Regions from separate parts of the Homo sapiens genome. Here regions 1, 2, 4, 5, 6 and 7 are each linked to region 3. Evidence: promoter capture Hi-C in 16 types of primary human blood cells and fetal thymus (Javierre and others, 2016). All regions are on one chromosome and are shown on one strand. Each heading gives the region's core, a stretch centred on a gene start or on the middle of the fragment in contact. The rest is flanking DNA. Distances are from core to core; before and after follow the strand shown.

What was found. The method cuts DNA at HindIII sites, captures the fragments that hold promoters and counts their contacts. A CHiCAGO score of 5 or more calls a contact.
Region 1: a fragment that was not itself captured here is called in contact with the fragment with the promoter of IFT74 in region 3 in 1 of 17 cell types (fetal thymus); the score reaches 5.5 in fetal thymus.
Region 2: a contact is called between a fragment that was not itself captured here and the fragment with the promoter of IFT74 in region 3, in 6 of 17 cell types (total B cells, monocytes, naive B cells and 3 more). The highest score is 9.9, in total B cells.
Region 4: a fragment that was not itself captured here is called in contact with the fragment with the promoter of IFT74 in region 3 in 4 of 17 cell types (fetal thymus, activated CD4 T cells, total B cells and 1 more); the score reaches 6.5 in fetal thymus.
Region 5: a contact is called between a fragment that was not itself captured here and the fragment with the promoter of IFT74 in region 3, in 1 of 17 cell types (fetal thymus). The highest score is 5.8, in fetal thymus.
Region 6: a contact is called between a fragment that was not itself captured here and the fragment with the promoter of IFT74 in region 3, in 10 of 17 cell types (total CD4 T cells, non-activated CD4 T cells, total CD8 T cells and 7 more). The highest score is 20.6, in total CD4 T cells.
Region 7: a contact is called between a fragment that was not itself captured here and the fragment with the promoter of IFT74 in region 3, in 4 of 17 cell types (monocytes, M0 macrophages, fetal thymus and 1 more). The highest score is 9.5, in monocytes.

The regions. Positions count from the first base shown.
Region 1 is chr9:27,667,428-27,671,590 of GRCh38, forward strand. LOC105376002 (a long non-coding RNA gene) reads left to right here. Exons shown (of 3, transcript XR_007061441.1): 2 at 1,594-1,695. Among named protein-coding and RNA genes, the nearest start is that of C9orf72, 96 kb to the left of the region's middle. The HindIII fragment of the contact is 1,618 bases long and covers 768-2,385 here.
Region 2 is chr9:27,599,843-27,604,066 of GRCh38, forward strand. No RefSeq gene overlaps it. Among named protein-coding and RNA genes, the nearest start is that of C9orf72, 28 kb to the left of the region's middle. The HindIII fragment of the contact is 620 bases long and covers 1,476-2,095 here.
Region 3 is chr9:26,955,140-26,959,080 of GRCh38, forward strand. IFT74 (intraflagellar transport 74) reads left to right here and starts at 1,273. Exons shown (of 20, transcript NM_025103.4): 1 at 1,273-1,377. IFT74-AS1 (IFT74 antisense RNA 1) reads right to left here and starts at 1,168. Exons shown (of 2, transcript NR_121605.1): 1 at 988-1,168; 2 at 641-876. RefSeq lists enhancers at 485-1,220, 1,221-1,955 and a silencer at 2,552-2,846. The HindIII fragment of the contact is 1,304 bases long and covers 794-2,097 here.
Region 4 is chr9:27,622,007-27,625,919 of GRCh38, forward strand. No RefSeq gene overlaps it. Among named protein-coding and RNA genes, the nearest start is that of C9orf72, 50 kb to the left of the region's middle. The HindIII fragment of the contact is 703 bases long and covers 1,411-2,113 here.
Region 5 is chr9:27,650,099-27,653,971 of GRCh38, forward strand. No RefSeq gene overlaps it. Among named protein-coding and RNA genes, the nearest start is that of C9orf72, 79 kb to the left of the region's middle. The HindIII fragment of the contact is 1,362 bases long and covers 1,703-3,064 here.
Region 6 is chr9:27,577,447-27,581,636 of GRCh38, forward strand. No RefSeq gene overlaps it. Among named protein-coding and RNA genes, the nearest start is that of C9orf72, 6.1 kb to the left of the region's middle. The HindIII fragment of the contact is 6,143 bases long and covers 1-4,190 here.
Region 7 is chr9:27,699,915-27,704,100 of GRCh38, forward strand. No RefSeq gene overlaps it. Among named protein-coding and RNA genes, the nearest start is that of C9orf72, 130 kb to the left of the region's middle. The HindIII fragment of the contact is 974 bases long and covers 1,550-2,523 here.

The sequences.
Region 1 (4,163 bases), core at 327-2,826, 710 kb after region 3:
GGCTGACCACGTGCATTGTCAATGAGCAGTAATATTCTGAAAAGAATCTTTCCTTTAATCAACAGATCTAATCAATGGACTTAAAATAGTCAGTAAACTGTGCTCTAAACAGATGTGCTGTCATCTAAGCTTTGTTCTTCCACTTACAGAACACAGGCAGGGTAGGTTAGCATAATATGTTTGTTTGTTTTTTGAGATGGAGGTCTTGCTGTAATGGCCAGGCTGGACTCAAACTCTCGGGCTCAAGCAATCCTTTCACCTCAGACTCCCAATTATAGGTGTGCCACACCACCTGGCTCAAGATTTAGCATAATTCTTAAGGGCCCTAGCATTTTCAGAATAATCAATGAACACTGGCTTTAACCTAAAGTTACCAGCTGCATTAGGCCCTAACAAGAGAGTCAACCTGTCCCTTAAAGCTTTGAAGCCAAGCATCGACTTCCCCTCTTTAGCTATGAAAGTCCTAGATGGTATCTTCTTCCAATGTAAGGCTATTTCATCTATACTGAAATTTCATCTATCCTGAAAATCTGTTGTTTAGTGTAGCTTCCTTCATCAGCTATCTTAGCTAGATCTTCTAGATAACTTCCTGCAGCTTCTACATCAGCACCTGCTCCTTCACCTTCATTTTTTTTTGTTATAGAGATGTCTTCTTTCCCTAAATCATATGAGCCAACCTTTGCTAGCTTCAAACTCTTCTTTTGCAGCTTCCTCACCTCTCTCAGACTTCATAGCATTGAAGAGAGTTAGGGCGTTGCTCTGGATTAAGCTTTGGCTTAAGGGAATGTTGTGGCTGGATTGACCTTCTATCCAGACCACTCAAACTTTCTCCATATCAGAAATAAGACTGTTTTGCATTTTTTAAAAAATCATTTGTGTGTTCACTGGAGTAGCATTTTTAACTTCCTTCAAGAACTTTTCCCTTGTATTCACAACTTGGCTAACTGGCACAAGAGGTCTAGCTTTCAGCCTATCTTGGCTTTTGACATGTCTTCCCAAATCAACTTACTCATTTCTAACCTTTGATTTCAAGTGAGAGACATGCAACTCTTACTTTCACTTGAAGACAAAGTCATTGTAGGGTTACTAATTGACCTAGTTTCAACATTGTTGTTTCTCAGGAAATAAGAAGGCCTGAGGAGTGGGAGAGAGTCAGGGAATGTTTGGTTGGTGGAACAGTCAGAACAAACACAATATTTATTGATTAAATGTATCCTTTTATATGGGTGGGGTTTGTGGTGTCCCAAAACAGTTACAATAATAACATCAAAGATCACTGATCACAGATCACAGTAATAGGTATAATAATAATTAAATAGTTTGAAATATTGCTAGAATTGACAAAATGTGACACAGAGACATGAAGTGAGCACATGATGTCGAAAAAATGTCCCTGAATAGAATTTCTGGATGCAGAGTTGCCACAAACATCAACTTATTAAAAATGCAGTATTCACAAAGTGCAGTAAATAAAGCACAATAAAACAAGGTATCCTTGTATATGTAATCATGCTTTACTCTTTTGGAGAGTACATAGTTGTAATTAAAAGCAGAGCTTGTGACATCACTCCTTTTTTTTTTTTTTTTTTTCAGGTCAAGAAAATTACATCCCTCCCAGAATGCGAAGATATAAACATGCTCTAAGGAGGTATGACAGCTATGCTCAAGATTCAGGTGCTCAGATAATTAGACGAGGTAAGTAGCAGAACTTTCAAAATGATGGTCGAACGAGGGCAGTTCCCATTTGTGTGTGGCATGCACACACATATGCAAACACACACATGGCCCAGGCCAATGGCTTACCTTTCCAATCAGTTTTCTTACCTACTTAACAGAAGAAATGTATTCTTATATTTTCCTCTCTGTTTTAGCTATCTAACTATTGTGAAGAAGTAACTTTGTGAATTGGTGTGTGCAGTTACCTAAAATATCTTGAGTACAGATACCCAAAATATTCTGGAATTTTCTTTTGCGATTGTCTTCAATGCTAGCTTACAAGTTATTCAAGATAATGAGTTACTTTACTTTATAGTCACCTCTTATATTTATAGAAAGTCATATTCCATTTGATCCCTCACTTTATCACCCTTGGCTCTGAATAACTTCTGGATGTTTCAAATGTGCTTCCAAAGGATAAAAATTTTCCATCCCTTAAAGAATGAACATTTGAGGATGTTAAGAATGCATTCTCGGGATGATGGCAATTCCAAAGAGGACTCCCTGTGCCCTGGACTGCTCCTCTCCCCAACACAAGATTTTGAGCAATTGCAACGTTGTTAAAATAACTAGTTGTTAAAACTCATCTCAGCTGGGTGCCATGGCTCATGCCCTTAATCCCAGCAAGGCGGACAGTGGGGGATTGCTTGAAGCCAGGAGTTTGAGACAAGCTTAGGCAACACAGAGGGACCCCATCTAAAAATAAAAAGCTTATCTGTTGTTCAAGGATACACCATTTATTTGATGGTTTATTTAGGTTACATGGTTTATTCAAACCTTGAACATCGAGGAAACCTCAGAGGGGTGAATGTACTTAAGACGCTTGATAATGTTTTTGTGAGTTGATCAAGAATTCTGTATTCTTGCTTCAGTTTTATGTTAAGAGAAATTGGAGTCTCCAAAGAATAAAGGCGTACACTTCTAGTAAAAAGCCAGTGGTGTACCAGACATGGATCTGGCTTTGCTGATTTCCTCCCCTCCAATTCTCTGTCTAAAATCCTTGCAAGACTTGATGGCAAGGCAATGATAGAAGGTTGTGGTGTCGTAGGATGCTTACTAGATTGGAATCAGAATATTCCTGGCCAGGAATCTGGGTGTCGATCAAATGTGGCAGTACCTTTAAAAGCACTTGCATAGTGCCTGGCACCCAACTGGCACTTCAATGCTGATTTTGAATTTGAAATTTAGAAGTTAAAGCTATAAAAGTGAAGGCCTACTGAATTTTATATACACAGCTTAATAATGGGATAAGAATGCATGCTATAAGAGGTCAGGCTTTTAATAACCCAATACAGTGAATCTCTTAATTCTCAATAAAAAGAGTGTAAAAAAGATGAAAGAATCTAGCCTATAATTATTCTGCCAGGTCATGAGGTATAAGCAGGTAATTTTAGAATGTTCTATAACTGTACTTTATAGATTGCATTAAGTCGGGGTAGTAATTTTTTAGGTTTCGTGTGGCAGGGTTTATTTCTGAATATAGAAATGTTCAATTCATCATGCAAAAATTTTTACATAGGTAGACCTCTTCACTATCCCAAGTTTATTTTATTTCCATCTACGCACACTCATTCAAAACATGCATGCAATGTATGTAGGCATGCATGCACACATGCACACACTCACACACACACTCCTCAGTACATGAAAATTAAAGCTAAGTAGTCATAATTGGTCACCTTTTGCCTTATAATTTGGATTTTAGGAAAAATAACCCTCTCCTATTTTCCTCCTTTTGAGAAAACTGTAGAGAAATATATTAGCATTCTCAAATGTATTGGCCTCATGTATTTTCTTTCTTCCCTTGCATGTAAACCTTGTAGTCTTGCCAAGGTTTTCTAATATTTGCATGTCAAACACAGATTACAAGCCCCCTGGGCTGGATTCACACTGGCCTCTTGGCTTTTTACAAAACGTTGCATAGCCTTGTCACTAGCTTGATGTTAAAGCAAATAATGCTAGCATCCTTAGTAAGGCCTTTGCCCTGAAAACTGAGAAAATCCGACCACAATAAACATGCTGAGAATAAAATCAGTCTCTGCTATAATTATTAGGCCAGAGACAGGTAAGCACAATTATTTCTGTACTGAAAAAAAACAGGTGGGTAGTAGCTGGCTCTGCACTGAGGGGGCAAAATGCTTGAAGTCCAGGGATGTTCAATCTATAAGCTCATATGTGTCCAACACCCACTTATTCCCTCCAATACATTTTCCCCTTGATGCTATGCCTTCTTTTTGTTTTTAAAAGCAGTCTTAAATTGGTTACCATTTTTTTCCCTTCTCATACTTCTTCCTGTGCTTATAGGCAAGGGACAGTAAATTAAGCATATCTAAGGATTTAATGCTCAAAATCACCTTGGATAATTGGCTTATGGGGTTGAGGCATGCTTTTCCCTCAGTCTCCTAGTATTAATGCTATTTCTCCTCAGAGGGTACATCTGTCAATAA
Region 2 (4,224 bases), core at 536-3,035, 650 kb after region 3:
ATATGTGGTTCTTTTTATTTGTAAGCTTAAAGTCCAAGCAGTTATGACAAATGGGTTTCACCTGAAGTGCAAATGCCCATTTATTCCTAGTGGTTCCTGGACCCCTTTATTGAGAAGGGTTGTGATGACCTGCCCCAAGCAAGGGGGGAAGAAGGCTGCTACTGCATAGTTCACGCTACTTAACTCCTGCCTCCTCTTTACCGAGCCCTCTTAGCTCACCAGAATCTGCATCTCAGAAGCCACCTCCCATTCAGCATGAACTTCCTTTTTATAAGAGCCCCCAAAAGTCACCTCAGGTAAATCACACTCATGAAATCTCTTTTCAGCCTAAAACTGTCTCCTAAAATGAAGCCCTCCCAGGCCCTTCTAATTCTGTCACCACTTTCTCACTCCTCCAAAATAAACTGCTTTTCAGTCCAAGGAATTCTTTAGAGAGAGAAGAAGAAACAAGGATCTGCCCGTGTAATTCTGTTGTTCTATCACTTTCTTTGCTTCATTATGTGTCACAGAGGTTTAGCAAGTACTCTCCAGAGGAGGCTGGGGTGGAGGAAAAATGTGTGAGGCCTGTGGCCTAGTTACTGTTGAAGTCTTCCTAGCAGCTTGCTTAATGCTAATTTCCTAGGCTTTGCAAATAGATCCTGCAGTGGAAACTGCTACCAATAGTGACGTAGTTGAAAAACCATGGGCCATAAAAAACTATTTATGACACTTCCCCCTTTTTCCAGCTCACACTCTGGAATGAACCAGTAAACAAATAATTAACACACAAGCAAAATTATTCTTCTAGGGCTTAAGGCTCTGTCCTAGTAGGAAAAGAATACTGTAGAAGGAAACTTGACAGAGAATACTTCGGAGAACTTAAGTGATGTTTTGATGCCCACAGATTCTGAAAGCTGACATCAACATTTCTAATATTTGTCCATTACTGTTTAATATGATAGGTTAAGTGTTGCTTCAGGGAGCTTGGAATTGTTCACTTCCAAGAAGTGAGGAGGATGCTTATTATTGCTCTTATGACTTCTCTTTAGAATTTGCATTGCTTTTACCATCCACAAACTGCTCCTTGGTAATTTTTATTACTAACAAACCCATAACCTGATTGGTTTCTCTTGAAATAGAGGGTATTGTGAAGTCACTCAGGATACAGATATAGTGCTGATGGGATCAATTAAAATGAATTGTAGTCCAGGAAAAGGTGCTTTGTGAAGCACTACGAGTGACAAAGATGAGTTTAGAAATAATCACTTACTTTATGACCACATTTCATAGTCTTGCTCACCCAGATATTTGTGACAATCATATTCTGGACCTACATAAAGGGTGAGCTACAGGAAGACAAACTTGCAAACATTACGATTTGAAAATAATTGATGTTTACTAACAAGCACATCATCATTTCAAAGCACTTTCAAGAAAAAGCATCCTCTTTCCTAGACAACTAAAGAGGGCTGTTAATTCAGATGGAATCATCTGAAAGCTTTTTCTTATCACCAACTTACTTATTTTCTTTTAATCCCCTCCCCAATATAAATCATAGCACCTCTGGGTGATAGTATTTGAAAATGACAAAAAGAACCCAGATGTTGACTAAAGGCCAAGGTTAATTGGATATGTGTGAGACTGTGCTGTAACTTCTTATTGAATTGGGTGGCTGAGCTGTATAGTTCTTGTGGCATTATTTCAGGATCTGAATTTAGTGATTACATAAGAAACTTCTAATGCGCTAAAGCGTTTAATAACCCATGTCTAAACTTCCCTTCCATAACTTCAGTTTTCGTCCAGAATCTCCGTTACTCAGATCTTTTCAACGGCTTCTTTTCTGGCTGCTGAGGAACCCAGAAACTTCTGACTGGCTTTGAAGGGTTACTTCCCTTGCATTTTTTCTCTCCTTTCTTATCCTTCTTTCTCAGGCTGCTCGCTGTAATATCCCTCAAACTGGATCTTCTCCTCCCTCTGTTCCTTCTCCCCTCACCTTCATTTTATCAACCAATTCCCTATGTTTGACTTTTCTTTTTCTCTCTCTGCCTCTCCAAGTCATCAAGACCCATTCAAGGTCCATTTCTTCCAGGGATCCGGATTAGTCCATTCTCTACCAAGCTTTCCTTCCTCTAAAATACCATTTTTAAAGCCATGTTATCCAGTAGAAATAAAATGCAAACCACACAAGTAAGTTTGTTATACTGTAGAAACAGATCAAATGAATTTTGACAATATAGTTTATTTAATCTATCATTTCTACCTGTAATAAACTTAAGATTATTAATGAGATATTTCCATTTTTTTTGAAGTCTTAGAAATCTGGATTATATTTTATACTTAAAGCACATGTCAGTTTGGACAAGCCACATTGCAAGTGTCCAGTGTGGCTAGAGCTTACTACATTGAACGGTCCGGGTTCAGAGCCTGTGCCACATTCTCTAGCTCTCAATCATGTACTTCCTTATTTCATAGCTTTCTACCAGACCAAATTGCAAACAACTCCGTAGAGTTGGCGGCTCCATTTTACACTTCCTCTGTCTTCACATTTTATTCCTGTGTGTGTAGTAAGCTATTAGTAATTGCCTATTGATGGATTGGTAATATTAATTTTATCTGTGACCTCTTAAACACAGCATACTTACTCCTACTACAGTTTCCTCAGGCTTGAAATTTCCCTCCTCTTCCCCATATTTATATTATGATTCAATAACCAAATCACCTCTGTTTTGTTAGATCTGAATCTCTGTGGGTATGTTGGATGAGATTATAAGAAATAGATGTGCATTATTTGCAGTTCTATTGCACTAGAGAGCAGCATTTTCACAGAATACTCATCGTTCAGACAATTCAGGCAAAATAGGATTTATAGCTGAAATCAATGGGATAATTGCCTCCATTGTTCTTTTTTGCTTTCCTAACAGAGACCTGGCCAACTCCTCGTAAGAGTCTCCTGGTCACAGAATCCAACCATGAAGCAGAGGCCCTTCAATTTGATTACAATGGCAAAGACACAGTTTTATAAGCTGAAACTAAATCACTGGGATAGGAATAGCTTATAAAATTGCAGGGAAGGAAGGTCGTGAAGAAGAAAAGGAAACCCTGGAGAGTACAAGGACAGATAGGGGACCTGAAGTAGAGGACAAGATGAGGAGATTACTAAATTCTGTCAGGGGTGCTAAAATGGGGGGAGCGTGCGAAACATACTATAACTGGGAACCTCAGTTTTAAAAATATAGTTTAACCACCCACTTTCCTTTCATCTCTTCATTCCTTTCCTTTCCAGACACTCCCCTCTGGCAATGCCTGCTTATTTAATTATGTTCTTGCTTGAGAAATTCCAGAGGCCAATCTTGAAACAAACCATGCATGGAGCCCTGAGTGCAGAATCCTCCTGCTTAGCGAGGAGTCACTGACAGTCCACCACCACTGGGCTGAATTCAAAATAATACCAACTAGACCTCCAGATGGGTGACTATCTGAGATAGCCATTGGAACAAGACACACAGACCCCGCCCCCTGCACCCCTCCTGCATGCCTCCCATACCAAGTTTTCCTTTGAACACTCTATGGTAAATTTTAAAATTTAAGATGGTTCTGTGACTATTGTTCACCATCTTCTTGGTTTGCTGCTTCTCCGATTAAAATCGCTTTTCCTCCCACCAACCTTCCTCTCTTATGTCTAGCTTTAGAGCAGCAAGCAGCTGAACCTGGGTTCAGTTACAATACAAACCTTACCTATTCCACAGTTTTATAAACAAAATGCTGAGGTGTACTATTTCAAGCCCTGTTATCATTTACTTCAAGGGAAACTTCCCCAAAACAGAATGATGGAATTGTAATTCTAGAACTCTGCCAATAAACAATAACATTCCTTGATTTTTCTCATCATATAAATTGTCAAAGTTACAAATGTTATCTCCATACACCTAATGTTTTAAGACATCTTACAGTCTTTATCGAGAATCTGTCAATTGGTTCTTATTAAATAAATAATTCATTTATTTAATTTTAAAGTCTTGTTTCTGTTTCTTATCAGTAACATCAATCTTAGCTCCCTGTTAACTTTCTTCTCATATAATAACAAATATATCTGCTATTGCTTAATAATGGAATAGCTTAACTTGGGTTAATTTTACATTTTAAACTTTTGGTGCCTTCACATGCTAGTGGAATTTTGACAGAAGAATCTTAAGATCACATCCAATTTAATAAAAACAAAGGCATAAATGAGGCCCCACAGTGGCT
Region 3 (3,941 bases), core at 23-2,522:
TATAAAAGCTGAAAATGAATTTATTAAAGGACATTAAGCAGCTCACAGACTCTCCCAGAAGCTGAAGAAACAAGCTAGAGGTTCTCCTCCCAATAAAGCCTCTGAGTACCTAACACTGCAGCTTGCAACAACACACTGATGCTGGACACTGGTTGCTGGTGATAGAACATTGCAGTCTCGGAAACGATGTAGTTACTGCGGCTGTCACCCTTACTTCAACAGACTCTCTGAAGTCCTGCTTCTGGTTGTCATTCAAGTTTGAGTTGAGTCCACCAAATTAGATTGGAGAGTCTAGCAAGCAATAATACTCATGTCCCAGTAATAAGGAAGACTAGGAAAGCCAGTATCTGTCACTTTCAGTTCCTGTAAGGGTGTTGGGGGGCAGGGTAAGGGAGAAACTCTGCCAAAAGGATGACAAATGGCCACTGCAAATAGGGTGAGCTCAAATGAGATAATTACATGAAAATGTTTCACAAACTAAGGGAGAATTCAGCCACATAACATTATCTCATTTTGTGTTGTATTGATTTTTAACTCCTCGAAGGCAGGCAAGTTGGAAATAATGTGTAAAATAATGTTAAAATCCCAATACATATGCAATCACATTTAAGCTGTTATCAATGAAGATTGGAAGGAAACATACAGTAAAAGTTATTTTATTAGAGAAGTGGGATTTAAGGTGAAGTAGTTCTTAAATTAAAAAAAAAAAAAAAAAGGACACTTTCCATTGAATTCACAGTCTTCCCCACAAACTTGGATCCAAATTCTAATGAAAGGAAGCTTAAAGACGCAAAGCTTCTGGTGAAAGCAGGAACGGAACAGTTGGTGCCAGAATCGCATCCATACTTCATGATGCGTTGTGTACGCTATGCCGTCCTAATAGGAAGGAAAACTACCACAAATTAGGAGTTTAGAAAATTGCACAATGCTGCCTACCACTTAACTTCAAATGTAACCTGTTAACAACGTTAGCCGACGTGAGGTTACCTAGGGACATAGCAAAACTCGCTAGAGTTACTTCAAGTAAGGCACACGGAGGTTGCTCTGATTATCAAGAAAACCAAACGTTCACATAAAATGTTTGTCTTCCAGCCGCCCCGCTGTTTTCCACTTTTTCCAAAAAGCACTGAAGCGTGGTGAAGAAACAAACATATCCTCAATTCTCGCGAGAGCTCCGTGTGTAACCAAGGGCTGAGGCGGAGGATTGGTCACTCAGGATGAGGAGCCTCCGCTATCCCGCCCCCGTTGCCGGGATACGCCGCGGCGCACGGCAGTTAGTGGGTAGGCCTGAGAGCCGAGGAAAACTGAGCGTGGGCCTCAGAAAGAAGTTAAGGCACCCGCGAGCCGGGCAACTGCCCTCCTTCCGCGCCGGCGGAGGTGAGAATCCCCGGGTCCCATCTCTTCCTCCCTCCCTCCCACGTCTGTTCTCTTGCCTTGGAGATGCTGATCCGCTCCAAACAAAACAAATTCAAACTCGGTCTTAGCTAACTGTTACCGTCGGGCCTGTAGCCAGGCCAGGCATGTACCAATTCTAGTCGAGCGAAGGTTGCGAACAGACCTCCTCCAACAGCCCGACCCCTCCCCGACCCCCCGCAGGAGACCCGCCAAGCACAGAGCAGAGGGAAGGACCGCGATGGGCTGAAGGATTTTAGTCAAAGCAATACATTTCTGCCTCTTACAGTGGAAGGGACTTATTTCTGTCTGTTGATCACAGTGCGGGCAGTTAGCAACTTTCCACTTATTCACCTGTGTGAGAATGGTTGGCTTAGGGAGGATAACGATAGTAATAATAATTAGAAGCAGATGTTTTAAATGTAATACTTATCGTCTTCACAACAGCCCTGCAAGGTAGATGTCACCCTTCTGTTTTACAGAAGATGAAATCCTGAGGGGTTAATTAAGGTGGCAAGATTATGCAGCCGCTAACTTTGTCAGCACTAGTTTGTATCGCTAATCATTCTGGATCCAAAGGCCAGGCTGCCTCTCTGTGTGAATAATTGGAAATTGTGTGACTCTTTGATTGAATAACCCCGAAGTTAGTGGTATATTTGTTGCTAATGCCCGCCTCTTAATCCCACTGGTAATAATATAATGGTAAGCTTTTTTTCACCACAGTAAAACGGTGGCAAAGAAAATTGGGTGAAATTTTTTATGTTGTACATTTTCTCAAAGTTAGCAGGAAACCTAGAGTAATATCTTTTCCACTGGAAAGAGATGTTTATTGTACTCGTTTTCTTCTGGAAAAACCATTTTGATCATACACCGTCTTCCTTTTCAAAGAGTCATTTCATGAAATTCCTTTTTCCATTTGAAATTCTTTTGCTTTGTACATAGAGTTCAAAATGGCAAGGAATTAGAATCAGGGAGCTAGTGGGGTCAGGAAGATTGATGTGAACATATTCAAATGAGATATCTGAATGGAAATTTCAGATAAACAATTGAAAACTCAAAATTGGTGCCCAGTTGAAAGGGCAGAACTGTAGACATTGATTAGTGAGCCGTACACATAGTTGGAGTTATAAAGATGCATGACTGTAGAAAGGATAGAAGCAGTCCAAGGACTGATTACGAGTAATGCTAAGAAAAGTCAGAAAAGTAGTACTGGACATAGAGTGTAGAAACAGAGAAATCATTTTAGTCCAACACACGCTTTGTTTGCCTTTTTTTTTTTTGAGACGGAGTCTTGCTCAGTCGCCCAGGCTGGAGTGCAGTGGCGCGATCTCGGCTCACTGCAAGCTCCGCCTCCTGGGACTACGCCCGCCACCACGCCCGGATAATTTTTTTTTTGTATTTTTAGTAGAGATAGGGTTTCACTATGTTAGCCAGGATGGTCTCCATCTCCTGATCTCGTGATCCACCCGCCTCGGCCTCCCAAAGTTCTGGGATTACAGGCGTGAGCCACCGCTCCCGGTCGCTTTGTTTGCTTTTTAACAATTTAGTAAATTTTTGTAATTGGCAATACCTTTATGTACGAGGAAATTTAAAAGATACAAGAGAGAACAAAGTTTTTGCTTATCACTGAGACAGATTTTGGGGATATAAAGATGATTAAGATTCAGCTCTTGCCATAAAGGGTGAGAAATACTTAAGCAGATCATTTCAAGTGGTGTGATAGGTTCTGGAATAAAGTAATACACAGGATGCATGGTAGCATGTAGAACAGGCCTATACACTGAAATTGAAGAAGACGAAGATTCCAAGACCAGTTATGGACTGGTCATGGAAGGATTCCCAGAGAAAGTAATAGGCAAAATGTGTGTTAGGCAAGGGGACCACTTAAGAGGCTGGTATAATAGTCCACCTGAGTCAGTGATGCCCTGAATTGGCCAGTGCTGTAGGAATAGAGAGTAAAGTACCTGTTAAACACTTAGGAACAAAATCAGTAGAACTAAACAAAACAAACTCAGTAGAACTATGTGACCAGCCATGGGAGTAAGGGAGAGGAAGATGTCAAGGACTAAATTTCTTACTTGTGTGACTAGGAGGTGACACCAAGAGGAAGGACAAATTTTGAGCAGATGATAATGAGTTTGGATTACATATGTTTATTTTGAAATATTTAGACATCTAAGTGGAGATGTTATTATTTGGATATAAACACCGCAAGCTGAGTGCTAAAATAAGGAAGTTGTGTGGAATCAGTTTATTAATTGTTAAAACCCTGAGTGTGGATAAGGGGGCCCAAGGGGAGTTTAGAGAGAGAAAAGAAAAAGATGGTGGATGGTATCTTAGAAAATGCTCTATATAAGGACAGATCAAGGAGACAGAAAAAAGAACCAGAAGAGAGGGAAGTGTCATGGAGATGTTTCATATAAATGTGGACACCAGTAAAGTAGGATGACATTTACAGCACTGGCAATATTGGCAGGGGTCATTTGAATCAAACGGTAGCAATCCAGGAGATACTGGGAAATGAAGCAGTAGAAAATAGTGGATATAAG
Region 4 (3,913 bases), core at 512-3,011, 670 kb after region 3:
AAAATACAAAAAAAAATTAGCTGGGCCTGATGGCAGGTGCCTGTATTCCCAGCTACTTGGGAGGCTGAGGCAGGAGAATGGCGTGAACCCAGGAGGTGGAGCTTGCAGTGAGCCGAGATTGTGCCACTGCACTCCAGCCTGGGCGACAGAGCAAGATTCTGTCTAAAAAAATAAAAAAATTAAAAAAAGAATGGGTTGTATGTATGTACAGTAGATATAGAGGAAGATGTACTAGAGGTTGCACACAATTTCTTCCTAGGCCTTATTATATCTATGTAATATATATTATGCACATATAGTATGTTACATATACATAACATATTTTTTAAATATATGTATGTATTTCCAAGACATATAATTTGGTTGAAAGCAAGTCATAGGACAATATCCACAATGCAATTCCATTTAAGTTAAAAAACCATACCTCTATATATGTATATATCAATATGTATGTATATATGTATGTATATACATTATACATACATGCATATAGGTAGAAACATTGAAAAAGAGCTAGAAAAACATTTACAACTAAAATGGTGTATTCTTCTGAGGAGATGAGGGTTGGATAGGGTAAGAATGAAGGAAGGGTTACTTTCGTGATTTGTTCAATAATCTTTGTGTTGTTTACATCTTTACAGTGAGAATATATACACATATATCATAATTGTATGACAAAAAACAACAAAGAGGGAAAAAAGAGGGAGGCAATAAAGAGCAAAAAAAAGTTACCACTAGACAGCTAACATTATGAAGATGATAAATATATGATGAAGATATTATATTATTTGATAACATATACATACATTACGTTATATTATCAAGATGGTAATTACCACGGGAAAGCTGAGAAAGCATATAGACAAGTTCCTCCTTGAACCACAATTTCCTCATTTAACAGTTCCCCAGGGTGAAGAGAATGGGGGAGGTGGTAAAGTATTCTTTTTCTAAGATTCTTCCAGCTCAAAATTCCATGTCAGTACAGCTGCTTCCAAATTGGTTTCTAAAGTTGTTTTGCCATTTTGCATTTCAATCAGCACTGTATGAGATTCCAGTTGCTCTTCATCCTATCTAATATATGTATATAGTAGTATTTCCTTATGGTTTTAATATGCATTTCTCTAATGACTAACGATGAGTATCCTTTTTTTATGTGCTTATTCATCATCTGAAATGGATCTGAGATCGTACTATAAAACTTCTAGAAGAAAATATAGAAACTAATCTTTTTGTGTTGAGCCAAGATTTCTTAGGACAACACAACCCCCAACCCCCACCAACCCATAAAAGAAAAAATTATAAATGGACTTCATAAAAATTATAAAATTCCCGTTCTTTGAAAGATATTATTAAATAAATGAAAAGATAAAAAAACTTGGAAAAAATACTTGCAAAATGCCTATGTGATAAAGCTTTGTATCCAAAATATATAAAGAGCATTTGCAACTCAGTAAAAAGAAAACAATCCAACAGAAAATGATCAAAAGATCTGAAGAGGTACTTCAGCTTTTATTAATGATGACTGAAATTAAAGATGAACTATTTTTTTTCTGGGCATTTATTTAGTAAATACTGGTGATTGAAGTTCCATCCAGATGTGGTTATTTTTGCTATAATAAATGTCCTTTTATGGTTATTCTCTGGAATGTGTAATAAAAAGTGATTTGCTTGAGAATGGCTCATTTTTCACTACAAGTAAATAATTAACAAAATTTATAGATTTTGTTAAATACTTATACTTTAAAGTATAACTAATTGGAAACACCCTATACAGAGCGTGGACTAGCTTTGTTATTCCTTCCTTGACAAGGAATTTTAGCAAACATTCTATGGAAAGGATAATTAGCAAGAGTCTCAGCTTTCGTTTTTGCTTGGCTATTTCCCTTGAGTTTAGTAAAGTAGAAAATTTAAGATATAAACCCACCATTTTTCCCTTTATTTTGGAATAGGGGATGGTACAGACTAAACCAAAATGGGATTACCATTCACTGGTTGAGCACTTACATGGAATCAGGGAAAATGTTTCTGGAGAACTCCTGGCGGGTGATATTTCTTAAACAACACAGAATCGAAAAGAGTAGCAGTGATTGTAACTGGTTTCTCTGGCTTCCTAAGCTTGTTGTTGCCTCTTGGGACCACATGACTGTGGCCACCCTTCCAAGAGCAGAGTTATCCCTGGGACCCTCTCTCTTGCAGCCTCTCTTTTTCTTTTTCCCACATCTCCTTCATCCTATTCAACGATTTACTCTCTCCTCTAACTTTCCTCTTCTTTGGAGACTAGTTCTGAGGCTGGGAAGGATGAGGGCCTAAGACCTGTGGGTGGAGAAGGGAGGGAAAACTGGCTGTCGATGGTCTGGCTTCAGGGTGAAGCCGACCTACTCCCAACGTTTTCAGATCCCTGGCAAAGTGCAAACGGAGGACCTCATATATTCTCATTGCTCGAACTGGTAATTAGTCCTCATTTAGTTCAGAATGTGAAGTTGTTGGAATTTTGTCTGAACTTTTCGTGTTGCAGATTTGATGAGAATAGTTCTCTTGCTTTTTAATTGTTTTGATCAGTAATTCAATCTTCATTATATTAATATAAAAAATGTAATGCCCTAGTCACAAATTTTAAGTCCATCATGCTTACCAGATATTTGTCCACTCTCATTTTTTTCCAGTTTTTATAGATTTAAACAGACTGCCTTTTTAAAGATTTTCAGTTTCTTTTTCCTGTTCACCTTTTTTGTTGTTGTTGTTCTTTTGGAGCTTCACGTTTGTATATTCTATTGCTATTATAATCTTAACTTGTACTTATTCTCAGTGATTATGGTAGGCATATTAATAGCCCCCTTAAGATCTCCCGTCTAAACCTCAGACTCTTTTATGAGGCAAAAGCGACTTTGCAGATGTGATGGAAGTTAAGGATCTGAGATCTTGTATTATCTAGTGGGCATAGTCTAATCATGATAGCCCTTAAAAGTGGAGAATTTTTCCCAGCAGCAGTCAGCGAGATGAGATGACAGAAAGGTAAGAAAGATGTGACATGAGGACTCAACCTGTTGTTGCTGGGTTTAGAGACGAAGGAGGGACGCCACTAGTCGAGGAATGTGGGCAGCCTTTAGAAGCCGAAAAGAGTAAGACATAGATCTCTCCTGGAGCCTGCAGGAAGAAATGCAGTCCTTCATTTTAGCCTAGTGACACCTATTTTGGAATTTTGACTCACAGAATGGTAAGATAATAAATTTGTGTTTTGTAAGCCACTGAACTATGGTAATTTGTTAGGGCAGCAATAGAGAACGAATAGTAAATGATTAAATTATCAAACATAATTACATTTAAAGCGTACAAAACTTAGATATATTTTCATTAAAAATTTAAATTAAATATAAAAATTTTGAATGAAATTATTTTTATATATCTTTTCAAAAAAGTTTTCTTCTAATATTACATTTATCTAATATTTGATAATATTATCAAGCTTATCCAACATTAAAAGCAAATTTACAAAGTACAACATATAAATATGAAAATTTAAAGTTATTTAATTAAAGCTAAACTTAATTTTTTGGAAAAGTAATTCAATCTTAGTAAATATTTTCATGGTAATAAAAGTTTTAGCAATTCCTGTGTTTTGTTTTCATCTAATTGCCAATACATAAATCATTACAACTAAGCCTATAGATATACATATATACAAATTTAAGACTAACATGGAATGCTTGATGTTGTAAAATGTCCTTAAACAACCATGTTTGATTTTACAAAACTGATTTAATTCAGAAGTACCTCTGGAACTATGAATTGGAACATGAAGAGAAGCAAAAAAATAGATGCATGGTACTCCTGGGAAACTATACTTATTATGCAAGAATCTATTGCATTCATGTTATCTGAGAGGAAGGATCTGACAAGTTAATTAATTTGTCTT
Region 5 (3,873 bases), core at 1,134-3,633, 700 kb after region 3:
AATTAGAAAAAACTACTTTAAATTTCATGTGGAATCAAAGAAGACCCTGTAGAGCCAAGACAATCCTAAGCAAAAAGAACAAAGCTAGAGACATCACGCTAACTGACTTCAGAGTATACTACAAGGCTGCAGTAACCAAAACAGGATGGTACTGGTACCAAAACAGATATATAGACCAATGGAGCAGAACAGAGACCTCAGAAATAACACCACACATCTAAAACCATCTGATTTTCAACAAACCTGACAAAAACAAGCAATGCAGAAAGGATTCCCTATTTAATAAATGGTGCTGGGAAAACCGACTAGCTGTACGCAGAAAACTGAAACAGGACCCCTTCTTTACATCTTATATAAAAATTGACTCAAGATGGGGAAACGATCTCCTATTCAATAAATGGTGCTGGGAAAATTGACTAGCCAGCTGCAGAAAACTGAAACTGGACCCCTTCTTTACACCTTATACAAAAATTGACTCAAGATGGATTAAAGACTTAAATGTAAAAACCAAAACCATAAAAACCCTACAAGAAAACCTAGGCAATGCCATTCAGGACATAGGCATAGGCAAAGAATTCATGACAAAAATGCCAAAAGAAATTGCAACAAAAGCCAAAATTGACAAATGGGATCCTATTAAACTAAAGAGCTTCTGCACAGCAAAAGAAACTAGCATCAGAGTGAACAGGCAACCTACAGAATGGGAGAACATTTTTGCAATTTACCTATCTGACAAAGGTCTAATATCAAGAATTTACAAGGAACTTAAACAAATTTACAAGAAAAAACAAACAACCCCATCAAAAAGTGGACAAAGGATATAAACAGACACTTCTCAAAAGAAGACATTTATGGGGCCCACAAACACATGAAAAAAAGCTCAACATCACTGATCATTAAAGAAATGCAAATCAAAACCACAATGAGATACCATCTCATGCCACTCAGAATGGTGATTATTAACAAGTCAAGAAACAACAGGTGCTGGCAAGGCTGTGGAGAAATAGGAGTGCTTTTATACTGTTGGTGGGAATGTAAATTAGTTCAACCATTGTGGAAGACAGTGTGGTGATTCCTCAAGGATCCAGAACCAGAAATACCATTTGACCCAGCAATTTCATTACCGAGTGCATACCCAAAGGAATGTAAATCATTCAACTATAAAGACACATGCACACATATATTTATTGCAGCACTATTTACAATAGCAAAGTAATGGAACCAACCCAAATGCCCATCAATGATAGACTGCATAAAGAAAATATGGTACATATACACCATGGATTACTATGCAGCCATAAAAATGAACAAGATCATGTCTTTTGCAGCGACATGCATGAAGCTGGAAGCCATCATCCTCACCAAACTAACACAGGAACAGAAGACCAAGCACCACATGTTCTCACTTATAAGTGGGAGTCTTACAATGAGAACATGTGGACACAAGGAGGGGAACAACACACACCAGGGCCAGTTGGGTGTTGTGGGGTGAGGGGAAGGAAATTAGAGGATGAGTCAATAGGCGCAGCAAACTACCATGACACATGTATACCTGTGTAACAAACCTGCATATTCTGCACATGTGTCCTGAAACTTAAAGTAAAATTTAAAAAAAAAAAGAAAAAAACTTAAAAAAATGTTCTGCCATATGAGATTATAAGAAGGGTAGAAAATGTCCGTCAGAATAGACAACAAGTCCCAAAGCTTTTGACCTGGAAGAATGCAGCTTATTTGCTATAAATCTTTTTTTTGTTGTTGTTCCTAGAGCTTCTTTCACTGGAGCCACTTTGGGGCATTTTTGTCTTAGTGGATTCATCGATGTTCTAGGTGGCATGAGTGGGTGGGTGGGGTTGGGGATCCAAAGTTAACACCTGTCTCCTTCATGTGATAATCAGACTAATTTATCATAGCCACAGGGCAATGACAGTTTCTTGGAGGTTTCCTGGAAGTCAGGAAATAGTCTCCTGATGGAAGATGGAATTGCTTCCACCAGTAGGTACATCAGTGATTTTGTCAGGTAGAGGGGATGGCCTGATATAGCTTACAGGGACAGAAGTTCTTTACTTTTTGAAAATGACTTGGTGTTTTCAAATAGGGATAACTAGACTTAGCACCTGGAGAAGTTAATCATAAACAAAATGTACTCTAAAGTACATGTACACATACAAAAATGCTTATTTTAGAGAAGAAAAATGACTAGTGAGTTATATCTTATTTTCTCTTTAAAGTCAACCAAACTTTTATCCTTCTTGCCTGAGTACTATGTAAGAATGATGGACTTTTTGTTCTATAAAGATGAGGATACGGCCAGGTGCAGTGGCTCATGCCTTTAATCCCAATGCTTTGGGAGGTTGAAACCGGGGGATTGCTTGAGGCCAGGTGTTCAAGACCAGCCTGGGCAACATAGTGAGACTCCCAACTCTTAAAAAAAAAAACAAAGATGCGGATGGTTAGTACATGTTTTCCTAAGACAGTCATGAGCTCTGTAATAATGTTTTGGTCAATGACAGACTGCACATGTGATGTTGGTCTCGTAGATTATAATACTCGTAGATTATAATAATGGAGCAGAAGAATTCCTGCTGACATCATAGCTGTCTTAACCTCATAGTGCAATACATTACCCATGTGTTTGTGGTGATGCTGGTGTAAACAAGCCTATTGTGCTGTCAGTCATATAACAGTATAGTACATAAAATTATGCACAGTACATAATACTTGATAATGATAATAAATGACTATGTTACTGGTTTATGTATTTACTACACTGTACTTTTTATTGTCACCTTAGAGTGTACTCATTCTACTTATAAAAATAAAGTTAACAATAAAACAGCCACAGGCAGGTCCTTCAAAAAGTATTCCAGAAGAAGGCATTGTTATAATAGGAGGTGACAGCCCCATGTATGTTACTGCACTTCAGACTTTCCAGTGGGACAAGATGTGGATGTGGAAGACAGTAATATTGATGATCTTGAACCTGTGTAGGCCCAGGGTAATGTGTTTGTATCTTATTTTTTAAACAAAAATGCTTAACAAGTAAAAAAAAATAAAAACAGAAGAAAGCTTATAGAATAAGGCTATAAAGAAAGAAAACATTTTTGTATAGTTGTGCAATGTGTTTGTGTTTCAAGCTAAGTGTTATCACAAATGAGTCAAAAAGTTAAAAAACTAACAAACTTATAAATTTAAAAAGTTACAGCAAGCTAAGACTAATTAATTATTGAAGGAAGAAAGTAGCTTTTTATAAATTTAATGTAGCCTAAGTGTACAGTGTTTATAAAGTCCACAGTAGTGTGTAGTAAAGTTCTAGGCTTTCACATTCACTCACCACTCACTCACTGACTCACCCAGAGTAACTTACAGTCCTGCAAGCTTAATTTATGGTAAGTGCCCTGAACAGGCGTACCATTTTAAATCTTTTATACCAGTACTTTTATTGTACCTTTTCTATGTTAAATAGGTTTAGATACACAAATACTTTTCATCATTTTAACTGCCTGCAGTATTCAGTACAGTAACATGCTGTACCAGTTTGTAGTCTAGGAGCAATAGGCTATGCTATAGCCTAGGTATGTAGCAGGCTATACCCTCTAGGTTTATGTAAGTTCACTCTACGATGTTTACACAAATATGAAATCACCTATAACACATTTTTCAGAATGTATCCCCATCATTAAGTAACACATGACTGTACCACTCTGACATATGAATATCATGAATTATTAAATTCCATTAAATTATGACTAAGAAAATTAATGTATCTGCATGAAGAATCTATGTTAAATAAAAATATTTTTAACATTTATGTAAATAACAATGTCACTTAAAGTCAATTATGTCTTTACAGTAATAAGAATTGGGAAAGGCCCA
Region 6 (4,190 bases), core at 1,087-3,586, 620 kb after region 3:
GACTGTAAACTAGTTCAACCATTGTGGAAGTCAGTGTGGCGATTCCTCAGGGATCTAGAACTAGAAATACCATTTGACCCAGCCATCCCATCACTGGGTATATACCCAAAGGACTATAAATCCTGCTGCTATAAAGACACATGCACACTATGTTTATTGTGGCACTATTCACAATAGCAAAGACTTGGAACCAACCCAAATGTCCAACAGTGATAGACTGGATTAAGAAAATGTGGCACATATACACCATGGAATACTATGCAGCCATAAAAAATGATGAGTTCATGTCCTTTGTAGGGACATGGATGAAATTGGAAATCGTCATTCTCAGTAAACTATTGCAAGGTCAAAAAACCAAACACCACATGTTCTCACTCATAGGTGGGAATTGAACAATGAGAACACATGGACACAGGAAGGGGAACATCACACTCTGGGGACTGTTGTGGGGTGGGGGAGGGGGGAGGGATAGCATTAGGAGATATACCTAATGCTAAATGACGAGTTAATGGGTGCAGCACACCAGCATGGCACATGTATACATATGCAACTAACCTGCACATTGTGCACATGTACCCTAAAACTTAAAGTATAATAATAATAAAATAAAAATAAAATAAAATAAAATGCCTGTTAGTCCTATGAGTCTTTCTCCCCATTGTTTTGGTTATCAGCCCTTGCCTTCCTTTTAGTTATGCAAATTTATGCAGCCTGCTTGACTTCCTCTCCTGAGAACGAGCTTTTCTTTACTACCACATGGCCAGGCTGCAAAATTTACAAACTTTTATGCTCTGCTTCCCTTTTAAGTGTAAGTTCCAATTTCAGGTCATTTCTGTGCTCATGCCTATGAGCATAGGCTATTAGAAGCAGCTAGGTTACTTCTTGAACACTCTGCTGCTTAGAAATTTCTTCTGCCAGATACCCTAAATCATCATTCTTAAGTCTAAGATTTCACAGATCCCTAGAACAGAGGAACAATGCAGCTAAGCTCTTTGCTAAAGCATAGCAAACCTGACCTTTACTCATTCCCAATAAATTTCTCATTTCCATCTGAGACCTCCTCAGCCTGGACTTCACTGTCTATATCACTATCAGTATTTTGGTTACAACCACTCAACAAGTTCCTAGCGAGTTCCAAACTTTCTCTCATCTTTCTGTCTTCTTCTGAGCCCTCTAAAATGTTTCAACTTCTGCCTGTTAGCCGGTTCCAAAGTCACTTCTACATTTTCAGGTATCTTTATAGCAATGCCCTTCTTCTCAGTAACAATTTTCTGTATTAGTCCATTCTTGCATTGCTATAAAGAAATACTTGAGACTGGGTAATTTACAAAGAAAAGAGGTTTAATTGACTCATGGTTCTGCAGGCTGTATAGGAAGCATGGCAGCATCAGCTTCTGGGGATGCCTCAGAGAACTTACAATCATGGCGGAAGGCAAAGAGGGAGCTGGCACTTCACATAGCGGGAGCAGGAGGAACAGAGAGAGGGAAAGTGGGGGAGGTGTTACACACTTTTAAACAACCAGATCTCGTGAGAACTTACTCACTATACAGTACCAAGAAAGGATGGTGCTGAACCATTAGAAGCCACCCCTGTGATCCAATCACCTCCAACCAGGCTCCATCTCCAACGTTGGGGATTGCAACTGAACATGAGATTTGGATGGGGATATGGATCAAACCATATCAATATTGTATACTGGAAATTTGGTAAGAGAATAGATTTTAGATAATCTTATCACATACATAAAAGGTAGCTATGAAATGATGGATATGTTAATTTGCTTGACTGTAGTAATCACTATACACGTGTATATCAAAACATTATGTTGCCCATTTTAAATACATACAATTAAAAAAAATTACACTTAATCCTCCTGACATCTCTAGGATGTAGATATTGTCATCCCTAGGATGTAGATATGTTTTACAGAGGAGATAACTGGACCTCTGAGAGCTTGAATTATTTACCCAAGGCTACATACTTTGATAAATTAGGCCAGTTTCATGCAATTCTAGAGCTCACTGAGTCCAGAGGACAACAACCTGGTACCAAGTTGATGATAACTCATCTCAGATAACTCCTATGGTGGTTAATACTAGCATCCCCAGTTTAGAATAAGACTGGAACTTGGATTAAGTGCCTGGGAGGGGAATACAACTCCAAAAGCAGGTTTTCCTACTTCAAAATTTGGCCTACAGACAAATAATTTTCCTTTTCTCGAATAGGTTTTTCTGTTTTTTTGTGATATCAACCCTGAAACAACTATGTTTCCTAAGAGAGAAATAATCAACACCAAAGCCTAAATTCTACATGATCATGAGAAATAAAATATATGGTGAAAATGGCTCTGTATGCATGATGCTTTCTAGCCAGTGACTGTGTATCTTCCCCCCACCTAATCCAACAGGTATTTAGTCATTGTGTAGCAGTATAGTAGCTTGTATGTCTTTCATTAGATTGGAGCAAAAAAATCAGGAGAGAAACAATAATTATAACATAGTACAGTGGTCCAAAATACTTTATTGCCTGAAAGGGTAAAAGAGGAGGACAAATATTCTAGCATATATGCAGTCTTCTGGGAACCAAAGAGAAAATGATATTTAAGTATCTAGTAATGTGATTCATATTAGCAGCATGAAAGATGGCTTGGGAGGGCTTTAACCCTTATCCTTTTCATACTCTGTTAACTGGTTTATTAACCACATCAAGTAACTGTAGCATCTAAATGAAAATAGGTTTTTCTACAGAAATATGTCTTCAAGTGAGAAGCCTAGTCCTCCATTTTCAACCAGAATGACACCCTTAAAAGACCTTATATAGAAATTTTTGAACTCTTCACATATAATTAATGCAGTCATACAAAAAGACTCTACAACTAGGGAAGCAGAAAAGCATATGGTTAAGAGAGTGGGCTCTGGAATCAGAGCTGGTGTGAGTATTGTCTTTGCCTTTGATTAGTTATGACATTTTGGGCAGTACTGTATTTCTCTGTGCCTCAGTTTCCCCAGCTACAAAATGGCATGCAGAATAATTTCTCCTAGGATCATTGTGAGGGTCATGTGTGATCAAGCAAGCTAAGGATTTAGAACAGTACATTCGAGAAGTGGTTCTAATCTCAATTTTACTAACTATGCAGAGATAATAAAAGCAATAACAAATGACTTATTAGCCTTTTAAACTATGTACCTATGTATGATTCCAATAACTATTATATCAGAATCCAGATAAACTTCCTGCTGTGTCAAAAATGCCAGTTGTTGTCAGGAAGGCATTCTTGCTATTAGTGTATTTCAAAAATGCAATATCTGCTGCTGATTCAGAGCTAGAGCTGAGAGCTTGTTGATTAGCTCCCATTTATCCAGATTACAGCAAATTAGATTTAACTGTGACTGGCATGTGAAAGATCTTATGTAGGACATGGAGGAGGAATACCGCTCCATAAACCATAGTGCATTTAATTTCTTTTTCTTTTTTTCTTTTTTGAGACAGAGTTTCACTCTTGTTGTCCAGGCTGGAGTGCAATGGCACGATCTCAACCTCCACCTCCTGGGTTCAAGTGATTCTCCTGCCTCAGCCTCCTGAGTAGCTGGGATTATAGGCATGCACCACCATGCCCCGCTAATTTTGTATTTTTAGTAGAGATGGGATTTCTCCATGTTGATCAGGCTGGTCTCAAACTCCCAACCTCAGGTGATCTGCCCTCCTTGGCCTCCCGAAGTGCTGAGATTACAGGTGTGAGCCACCGTGCCTGGACTTAATTTCTTTTAAATAATGAGATTTTATGTGGTTGCCTTAATCATTACGGACTAGGCGGTATGCACTTTATGGTACATTATCTTTTGGTTGGAATGTGAATGAACCAACACCTACCTGAGGTACTTCTAGGTGAAATCTTGATTCTTGAGTATATAAAGTTACTTCTGGTTGCCAGTGTGATATAAATGGTTTACAAAACTCTAGGGGTTCTGTGCCTGGAGCCAACACTCTACAGTTCTGATGATAGACAATGTAAACAATGCCCTTGCAAGAGAATATCAGGCCGGGTGTGGTGGCTCACGCCTGCAATCCCAGCACACTGGGAGGCCGAGGCTGGTGGATCATTTGAGGTCAGGAGTTCAACACCAGCCTGACTAACATGGTGAAACCCCATCTCTACTAAAAATACAAAAAAAAATTAGCCAGATGTGGT
Region 7 (4,186 bases), core at 787-3,286, 750 kb after region 3:
GAAAAAGAAGAAGGGATGTGGGTGAGTTGGGGGAAGAGAGCTGATACTGCCAAAGAACACTAAAATAACACTTAACAGTAGAACACTAGACACATATAGTAGAAAACAAATCAATTCAGAAAGATATTCTCATAAATCCTCTTTCTAGTGACAACTGGGGTTCTTTAAATGGAGAAAAATGAGGGACTGTTATGCAGCATTTGAAAAGAAGCTACAAATTAAGATTATGGATCAATTACTACTGATCTAATATCAAGTGAAATAAAGCCAGATTATAAAAATATACATGAAAAACAATAACAACTATGTTAAAACACATGCAACTTCATGTAGTAACATAGTGGAGCGAAGTACATAAACTTCATGATGACAATTGCTTTAGGATGGAAAGGCAATTGTTTCTTAAAAAACCGTTTGGACGGTGATCGTATTTTAACTATGAAAATGTAAACTTTATTTATTAAGTTGACGTTTAACAGAAAAGCCTTGCAGGGGATCAGATCCCCTTCAAGATTGCACCTGGGAGGCAGGAAAGGATTGTTTATTTAGCCTTAAGGATTTTGTCATAGATTGCAGAGGAATGCTTTAGCCCCTAACCATGCTGCTCTGCTCTGTTCCCATTTCATCTGCACTTGCAATACAAAAGTGTTTTCTGAGGGTGTTCTGAAACAGTTCTAGTCCGCTTAAGGTCACACAGATCAACCCTGGATCCATGTCTCAGTGGAGCAAAGTTGAGGGGGAAGGCAGACAAAGCTGACTGCTCATGGGGGCCCCACGTGGTTGAGACCCAGAGAGAGCTTAATCAGTGATGTGAACTGGCTGACGTGAGTTGCAGAGACACAAACTCACAACCAGAGTATCAATCAGCATTAGTGATCATTAGGGACATGGTCTGCTTAAAGTCAGCAATCTGAAAAGGCCAGACTGAGTTCTTATGATAGAAATGACGTATGTATAAAACATTCCCTTTTTGCTTTCAAATCAATTGGCCCTTTTATATTACATGGCACAACTCTCTAGAATCATAACTTACTTCTTGCCAAGACAGATTTCAAGTTCCTTCTTTGGGCAAAACTTTGACCCTTACTTTAGATCCCTTGGAGACACATTTCTATATGGAAGTCTTAGTCATATTGGTTCCAACAAGACTGAATATAGTGCTCGACACTTAATAAGTTCCCAGGAAATGTTTGTTAAATGGGATACAAAAGATTCCCAATTTCTTTCCTCTTGTCTTCACAGCAGCAGCATACTGTGTTCCTCTATCTGGAATGTGTCTGAAGTGGCTTGATGGCTTTGTCATGGGTGGGGGCACTTCCTCTCAGGGAAGTGCAGGCTTCACTCTTTTTGTCCTCTTCACTCTGTTCTGAACTTTTCTCTTCACACTGGATTTCTGTTTACTGCATGGCCTTTAGATATGATGCCACGGGGTGTCTCTGCGTTTTAGGCACCTAGCCTCCTTCTTCTCTTGGAGGGGACATTGGCACAATTTCATTTTTGAAGCAACTGGCATCTCAGATTATGCTTCAAGTCCCCTAACCCAATTTAAAGCTTTCTTTTTCTCATAGCTTTTCTAGATCAGTAGTGTGTGTGTTGCCTAGTCATCAAATCTAATAAGAGCAGACAGTTTTGTCTCTCCGATGGTTCCTGTGTAATAATTCCACATCCATGTGTCATCTAACACACACCGTTTTGTCAGGTTAGGAAAGTGAAATTCATGAGCTTAAAAAGAGAGGACATTGTCCGTGGAGTTGCAGCCATGACAGAGTTATGTGTCCTTAAAAAAGGGGCTATACAAAAGCTGCTTCACTGCACTAAAACTAACACATCCCATGTTATTGACTCCCTCGGAAGCAATGTCTAAAGACCACTGCTCCAGCTGGTAGAGACATCGGAGTCTTAACCACCGATTAGCACATTTCCTGGGTTGTGCGTTGTCCTTTGGCTGAACTCTCCAAATGCTGCACTTGCTGAGGTTGCTTTAGACTCAAGAGTGTCATAGCAGCACTTTTTGTTATTATTGCATTGGCTTCCTTGGGTTCAGATGTCACAGTGCAGTACCGATAAGTGAAAAATTAAGGAAGAACTAGCAAAAAAATAAAGCATATGTTGGAAGTCACAGCATAGCATAATTACCGTCAAGATATTAACTCTCTAAAAAGAGGACAATTCAAGCATTAAAAAGATGCTATGTTGGGATGTTGTATCACTTCTTGCCAGTATATAGTCGACTCTGATTTAAGATAAAGTACGTAAGTTCTATTTTCTAATGTACCTTCTAGAAGAATAGACCAGCAGTTAAAACTTCTCATTAATAAGTGCAACTTGTAACATAATAATAGATTTATAATACATGCTTAGTTGAATAGTAGGGATAGGGATGGTGATAAAGGTATTTACAATGTTACAAATTAAGCATTTTACATGTGTGTTCTCTTTCAACACATCCCTCAGTATATCTAACCTTCAAAGACCTCTATAAGATGGGAATGATTATTCCCATTTTGTAGATGATGAAACTGAAGCTTAGAGAAGTGACTTTTCTGAGGTTACATGGCTAGAAAGTACAGGAAACAGGTGGTCCTAATTGCAGATCTTTCCTATATCAGTTGTTGTTTCTCAGGGAAGCAGAATAACTGTAAGTTATACAGAATAAACATTTATTATAAGGATTAGATATTTCACAATTATGGGAGCTGTTTAAAAAACATCTAAGATTTTTTAATAAAAAAATCTAATATTTTTTTAAAGTAAGAGGCTGTTGCCTCTGCATTTCTAGTGGTGGGCTTGAAGTTTCTGTTTGTTAGCCAAGGGAATATATTATAAGGATATAGAGGTATCTTATTGGACATGGGGTCTCAACAAGTTCCTGCAATCGGCAGTCATCAGGAACCAAGGTGTTGGTTTGTTCGCTCTCTCTTTGTCACCCTCTCTCTCTCTCGGTATCTGTTGCCTATTCTCTTTCTGGAGATTGACTTAGTTTTTGTATTTATTTATTTATTTGTTTGTTTGTTTTTGCTTCTTTGTGCATATAGCAGAAGATGGACACTTGTGTAGCTATCCAACCTGTAGATTTTATATCAAACAACCAACAGAGAATGCCTTGGAACTATTAATACTAATTCCAGATTCCAGGAAAACAGAATCTCATTAACCCAACTTGGATCAACTGTGACGAGGGAAGAGTAAAATGAAGACAAGGAGGGTCATGAGTGGGCAGCCACCTCCAAAAGTATGCTACAACCAGGATTGTTCTGGCACGGTATAAAGGGTGGATTTCAGGAGGTGATAATAAAAACTGGACATTTCTGAAAGTTAATTTGACAGGCTTTGCTGCTTGCTCTTGTAGCAGAGAGTTTCCTGTAACAAATTGGGCAAGGGGGCTGAGATTTTGCCTTGGAAACCAATGTATTCATTTACAATTGGATGTGAAAACTGTCCTAGAAGGATTATGTTCTATCTGGCTTCTCACGGTTTTTAGATAACTGTAGACTTGTTATAGAGATATAACCCAACTTCCACTTCCTCAATTCATTAAAAAGGAAACTGAAGATCAGAGAGATTAAAGGATTACTAAACCTCTCTTTTTAATTAAATTATATTTTAAACCATAATCCCTCATCCAAATTGTACAGATCCTTTTTGGAATGGTTTTAGAAAAGAACCTCAGTGATTAGAACTCTACTTGACAGATTGGGTTAATCCTCAGATCTTCAAGTGAATTGAGATTAAGCTAAATCATATATTCTCACTATATCTTAAAATAACTAATTTTCTACCCCAAAAGAACATGCATTTAAGTTGACAGTCTCTTGGTTCTGATTCTGCAGATGTCTCCAGTTTGAACATATGGTGATTGTACTTACCACCTGTGCTGAAATTCTTGCAAACACTGGGGATTTGAGACCAAATGTCAGCCCCAAGTTTGATATATATTGGCTTCGGTAACTCTTTCTCATAACCTTCTCTCAATCTTAAAATAGTTTGAGATTATTATATTTGTCTGAATGTTAGTAAAAATGTCATTACCTTGTGGTGGAGAACAGTATTTGAGCACTTGTGGTGACTTGTTTCAACTCTAGAATGTTATACTTTTCTTTGTCATTTTGGGTCTTTCTAAGCCACTAACTCCTTTTTGAAATATATTGTAATAATTTTTTTGCATTTTGTTATTTTCATTTTTATC